Regions from separate parts of the Homo sapiens genome. Here region 1 is linked to region 2. The links are contacts of gene promoters, found by promoter capture Hi-C in blood cells and fetal thymus (Javierre and others, 2016). All regions are on one chromosome and are shown on one strand. Each heading gives the region's core, a stretch centred on a gene start or on the middle of the fragment in contact. The rest is flanking DNA. Distances are from core to core; before and after follow the strand shown.

What was found. The method cuts DNA at HindIII sites, captures the fragments that hold promoters and counts their contacts. A CHiCAGO score of 5 or more calls a contact.
Region 1: a fragment that was not itself captured here is called in contact with the fragment with the promoter of BATF3 in region 2 in 1 of 17 cell types (M2 macrophages); the score reaches 6.7 in M2 macrophages.

What each region holds. Positions count from the first base shown.
Region 1 is chr1:212,062,508-212,065,577 of GRCh38, reverse strand. DTL (denticleless E3 ubiquitin protein ligase adapter) reads right to left here. Exons shown (of 15, transcript NM_016448.4): 6 at 2,629-2,694; 7 at 549-661. Among named protein-coding and RNA genes, the nearest start is that of MIR3122, 14 kb to the left of the region's middle. The HindIII fragment of the contact is 6,737 bases long and covers 1-3,070 here.
Region 2 is chr1:212,698,460-212,701,631 of GRCh38, reverse strand. BATF3 (basic leucine zipper ATF-like transcription factor 3) reads left to right here and starts at 1,792. Exons shown (of 3, transcript NM_018664.3): 1 at 1,792-1,959. The coding sequence starts at 1,870. RefSeq lists silencers at 1,775-1,854, 2,045-2,494. The HindIII fragment of the contact is 2,939 bases long and covers 547-3,172 here.

The DNA of each region.
Region 1 (3,070 bases), core at 33-2,532, 640 kb after region 2:
GTGTGTTTGTGTGTGTGTGTTTGTGTCTGTGTGTGTAGAGAGATTTTTAGGGATGAGTAAGGTGAATTTTCAACATGTGCCTCAGGCAACTCTGATGCACACAGTATTTGAAGTGATGGCTATCTCAATTACCCTGATTTGATCATTATACATAGTGTACCCCCCAAAATATGTAAAATTATGTTATCAATTTTTTAAAATGTAGATATTGAAATTGTAAAAAAAAAAACCACTTTCTGCTTAATGGCATGAGACAACATCTTATGTTTAATTCAATCTAATTCTTTAAAACCAAAATAAATTTAAAGATATTTATCAACGAGGCTACATATATTTTAATTCCATCAATAATATAGGTAAATGGCATTATAATTCAGAAGAACCAAAAATTAAAATTTGAGAACCACAAATGTAGGTACTGAATAAGCAATAAACCACTGATATCAAATGAGAATCATGAAGATTCTCATTCACTTAATCAATAGCCTCCCATTTATTCTATCCTACAGATAAGATCTGCACACATGTATACATCTGTAAAACCTTACCACAGAAGGAGCAAGTCCTTTTGAATTCTGTTTCTTCTTGGGTTTTGAAGGGGTTTGCTTGTCTGAGGTATTGTGAGCTCCACTGATTTGATTCACTTGCCTATAAAACCCATCTGAAAGATATTCCAAGGAAATTTAGGTTTCAGGATTCTTACATGCTGAATATAACATGTGTAAATAAAACTTCAATATTAAGTAATTTTTGACCAAGTTGGTGAAATTAGAAGCCAGCAGAGCCAGCTGCACTACATCTCCTGTGGTGAGACTATAATGTATAAAAAGGGAGAGATGTTTATAACAGCTTTAATAATTGCCAAAACTTGGAAACAACCAAGATGTCCTTCAGTAGGTGAATGGATAAACTTTGGTTCATCCAGACAATGGAATATTATTCAGCACTGGAAAGAAATGAGCTTGATAAAGCCATAAAATGACATGGAGGAAATGTGACTGGGGGAAGTAATAAGATCAGTGGTTGCCAGGGCTTAGAGGGAGGTAGGGATGAATAACTGGAGCACAGAGGATTTCTAGAGTAGTGAAACTATTGTGTATGATGCTACAATGGTGGACGCACGTCATTACACATTTGTCAATATCCACAGAATGTGTAATACTAAGAATATATAACACTGATGTAAATTATAAACTCTGAGTGACAGCATGTGTTGACATAGGTTAACTGATTATAACAAATGTACCACTCAGGCACAGGATGTTGTCAGTGGGGAAGTCTGTGTGTGGGCAGGGCAGGGGCTATATGGGAACTCTCTGTACTTTCTGCTCAGTTTTGCTGTGAACCTAAAACTGCTCTACAAAATAAGGTTTATTAAAATTTTTCTAAATAATTTTATTATTTATTTCAAAATAGCTAGAAGAATGGGAGGCTGAGGCAGGCAGATTGCCTGAGGTCAGGAGTTCCAGATCAGCCTGGCCAACATGGTGAAATCCTGTCTGTACTAAAAATACATAACTAGCTGGGAGTGGTGGCATGCACCTGTAATCCCAGCTACTTGAGAGGCTGAGGTAGGAGAATTACTTGAACCCAGGAGGCGGAGGTTGCAGCGAGATGAGATCACGCCACTGCACTCCAGCCTGGGTGACAGAGTGAGACTCCGTCTCCAAAAAAAAAAAAAACAAGAAACAAAAAACCAGAAGAGAAGAATTGTAATGTTCCCAACACAAAGAAAAGATAAATGTTTGAGGTGATGGATATCCCAATTATCCTGATTTGATCATTTCATGTTCTATATATGTATCAAGATATCACATATACCCCTGAAAATATGTAGAACTATGTTACCAATTTTTTAAAATGCAGACACAAAAAAAAATTTTAATAAATTAACTAAAAGTGAACAGTGAGATAATCATCGTCTGCTTAATAGCATCATGAGACAACCATGAGCTTATGTTTAATTCAATCTAATTCTTTAAAATCAGGCTGGGCCTGGTGACTCACGCCTGTAATTTCAGCACTTTGGGAGGCCAGGGTGGGCAGATCACTTGAGGTCAGGAGTTTGAGACCAGCCTGGCCAACATAGTGAAACCCCATTTCTATTAAAAAAATACAAAAATTAGCCAGGCATGGTGGCGGGTGGCTGTAATCCCAGCTACTCAGGAGGCTGAGCTAGAGGAATTGCTGGAACCCAGCGGGTGGGGAGTGCAGTGAGCCAAGTTCACGCCACTGCACTCCAGCCTGGGTGACAGAGACTCCATCTCAAAAAAAAAAAAAATAATAATAATAAAATAAAAAAAATTCTTAAAAACCAAAATAAAGACATTTACCAGTGAGGCTGCGTATTAATATTTTTAAGTCCATCAATAATGTGGGTAAATGGCATTATAATTCAGAAGACAATATGAGATAAATACATGAGTGTAATACTTGTAACAGTGACACTCATGTATTTATCACTCAGGACACTCAGTGAAGATCCTGAGATCTGGAACAGTGAGCAGAAATGGGAAATTATGAGTACATGCCCCCTGGTGGTAATCAGATGAAATCACTAACTCTTTCACTCAAAATTAAGTACAGGGTAATCCCAAATCTCTCAAAATTAAAATAGATCTAGATAACCTTTTTTGTTGCACCTGGTATCCCAGACCATAATGTTGCCATCTCTTCCACCCGTACAGAATACAGCTGTGGGGAAATAAACAGATTATTAAGAGGTTAACAAAACCAGTCAATGACACATATATTTCAGTTTACATTTTGTAGACTATCTATTATGTGCTAGGTACTGTATCTGTCACTGGAGATCAAACATTTAAAAATATATGGCTCAATAACAAATAGGAAAAAGGATTATGAAGAGCTTGAGATGCTAATGTTGAACCAAAACTTCATAGAATCACCCCTCTGTAAATTTTTTAAAACCCATATAAAATATATAGTACAGTTGTAATAAGAATAACAATCAAGAGTCAAAATACAGAGTGCTTCTTATTCTAAATGTTAGCTACTATCCCGCGTGTTTTATAAAAATTATCTCAATCCTTGCTATCAACCTTATTAG
Region 2 (3,172 bases), core at 543-3,042:
GGGCATGACCAGAATAAAGTGTAGGAGTGCACGGGAATGTTCCCGAGGTGTTTCTACCTTGCCTTTTCTGTGCATAAAAAACACTGGGGAATGAAATCACTTCTGAAAATGATAACCCCTTGACCCAGATGTTTTCCTAGCTCGTTAGAGCCCTTTTAGTGCTTCAGGAATGAGAGCTTTCAGCTGACCTAGTGCAATACATATACTGAGCACCTGTTGAGTGTATGTAGCGTGCTATGCTAGGCACCTTGTGTGGGTACCTTGTGGGATGCAAAATAGTCCTGGGGCAACCACCAGTTAAGCTGAGTGATGAAATAACGGAGAGGAAAAGATTAATCCGGGCAGATAACCCAGCGTAGCGCTGGCTCTGCTGCGCAGCCTTGCTGCTGTGGAGTGTGGCGCTGCAACTCTAAAGGGCTGCGTCCACCCTCCGTCTTCCTCCCCGCCTCTCAGTTGGCCGAAGCTTCTGATCACACAGACAAGAATCTCCGCTCGCTTTCCCGCTGGCCTCCAGGCAGCCAAGTTCACTCAAGCTCTCTCAAAGCTTTTGCAAGAGTGGGTCTTAAATCCTGGCGGGGGGCACGTGCACTCATTTAAGACTTAAAAAGGAATCGGAAATGACTGTCCCCATGCCCACTGCTGCCCACAAACCTGAAGACCCAAGCGACCACACTTGGTAGGCACTTCTGCCCTTCTGGTCTGGTTCCCACCCGCCCATCCCGAATCGCGGTTATCTTTCCCGGTGCTCACAGCATGCAGACCACAGCCTGTGGCCGCTAGTGTTTCCTTCGCTAGGACCACGGGTAATTGTCTTGGCTTCGCATCTTTTGACTGGCAGGCAGGTGGACAGGGACTTGCCCTACCTCAACCCGGTCCCCAGCTTGGCACGAGCAGATAAATCTTGAAAAAGAAAAATGATCTGGGCCGTTTAACCGTGGCATGGCGGGTCCAGATCCCCAAACCTGTCACTAGTGACGTCCCACGTGGCAGATTCGCTCTCAGGGAAGCCCGTCACCGTTTTTGTCCGGGACATCCTCCCCATGCCCACCCTCCGCTCCGGGAATTCACCCTCGGGGCCGCCCCGCCTCGTTCCCTCCCACAGCCCGGCGGACCCGAGACGGGAAGGGCAGGCACTCCCTGCAGAGTCCCTGGGGCGCCCGTGGCTCGGGGTGCGCGGTGGGACTCGGTGAAGCCGGCGTCTTCACCCCAGAGCCGCGGCTTCGGGGCCGCTGGAGGAGCGAGAGTGGCGCCCGGATGACTGATCGCCGCGGAGAAAGTCCCCCGGGACTGTGACCCCCGCGCCGGGGGGCGGACGCAGGGCGTGGCTGAGGCGCAGGAAGATGCCGCGATGGGACCGGGAAAAAACACCGACCCCAAAACACCCACTGTGTTTCTCAACCTGAGTTCCCCGGCAGCCGCCGAAGGACCCCAAAGGCTGCATGGCGCCCCCCTGGTCCCCACCCCCCCGGGCGTCGCCTCGCGTGGGTGGGCTTCGCGTTCCCTCCGGGGTTTCAGAGCCACCACGTGACTTCCACGAAGCGCGGGGCGCCGGCGGAAAGCCGCGGCAGGGGTGGGATTTGGGACCCCGAGGTGCGGAGAGAGGGCGGGCAGAGGAGGAAACGAGGCGGGGGTGGGAGAAGGAGGGCGGGGCAGACGTGGGACGGGAAGGACGGCTGCCGGGACTGGCGCGCGGGGACACTGGGCCGACGCGTGGAGTAGCGGGGAGAGCGGGAAGCCTGAGGGGGCGGGGCCGGCGCGAGGCCGTGGGTGCGGCACGAGGATGCCGGCGGCGGGACAGCGCCCGTAGGCAGCCCCACGGGCAGGGCGCGCGGGCGGGGCGGGGCGGGCCGGGCCAGAGGAGCGCCCGGCATGTCGCAAGGGCTCCCGGCCGCCGGCAGCGTCCTGCAGAGGAGCGTCGCGGCGCCCGGGAACCAGCCGCAGCCGCAGCCGCAGCAGCAGGTAGAGGGCGAGAGGCTCAGGGAGGGCCGTGGGGTGCGGGGACCGGCGCGCCGCGGGGGGCGAGGAGGTGGGTGCTGGAGTTCCGTGGTGGTGACTGCGGAGGTGCAGAGGTGGCGGGTGCGGCCGGAGACAAGCAGAGGTAGGGGCGTAGGGATGTTGGGGAATGGGGGCGATCCAGGGACCCTGTCGTGCGCACAGTGTCCGCGGCTCCTGGAATGGCTCCTGAGCCAGCTCCTGCGCCCTCTGGGGGAAGAAGCCCGAGGGCGCCGACGCCTGGCTGGGCCGGGCATGGCCGGTGCTCCCCGGCACGTGGGCTCCGCACTGCCCTGAGGGCCGCCCCATCCTGGCGCAGCCAGCGACTGCCACCCCACCACCCGCGCCTGTAGCCCCTCCAGGATTCCCCCGGGTGGGGGGGGTGCTGCCGCGGGAATGGAGAACGCCGGACTAGTCAGCCTGGGCGGAGGGAACCCACAAAGGGCCGACTCCGCCCCCAGCTGGTGGAAACCCTTTGCCCCTTCCCAGTTCGCTGTCCCCTAGCAACGTTTACAGCGGCGCAGTCAGGAAGGAGACCAGGTTGGCCACAGGGACGGCCGTCTGGAAACTTTGCCTGGGTCTTGGCCACCTGCCTTACGACGAAGACTGGGTCTTTTCATCCTTACTCCCCACCTTCCCAATTCAGCGCCCGGCCCATGTCATCAGGTGTCGCTGGAGTGTCACAGAGATCTGAGTTTGGGCCTGGGCTTTGCCACACACAGGCTGAGCAGCCTTGAGCAATTTGTTTAACCTCTCGGACCGTCCATTTCCCCATCTGTAAAATGAATATAGTAACATCAACCTCTCAGGATTTTTGAGACTGAATCAGATATGGTTAATAACATAATACTATCTCTAACTTTCGCTCACCTCTTTCTGTCTTGATTAAATGTTTCTGCTGGGTTGGCAGGTGTGATCATGGTGATGAGTCCAGTTTAGAGTCAGCTCCCCGAGGGCAGTATGCAGGCTGCTTTCTTGTGCTAGTGACTTTTTGATTACAGAGAGCAAAGAGGCATGAGAAGCACTATGCAGAATACATTTTTTTTTAAAGTAGCAACTTCAACAAAGGCAGGTAACTTCTTGAGGGCATACTGTATGCTGGGAGCTTTAGGACAAAATCTCATTTCATCGCATCCCAATCCTAAGCATTAGGCTGTTAGCACCAAGTCTGCAGAGTTCA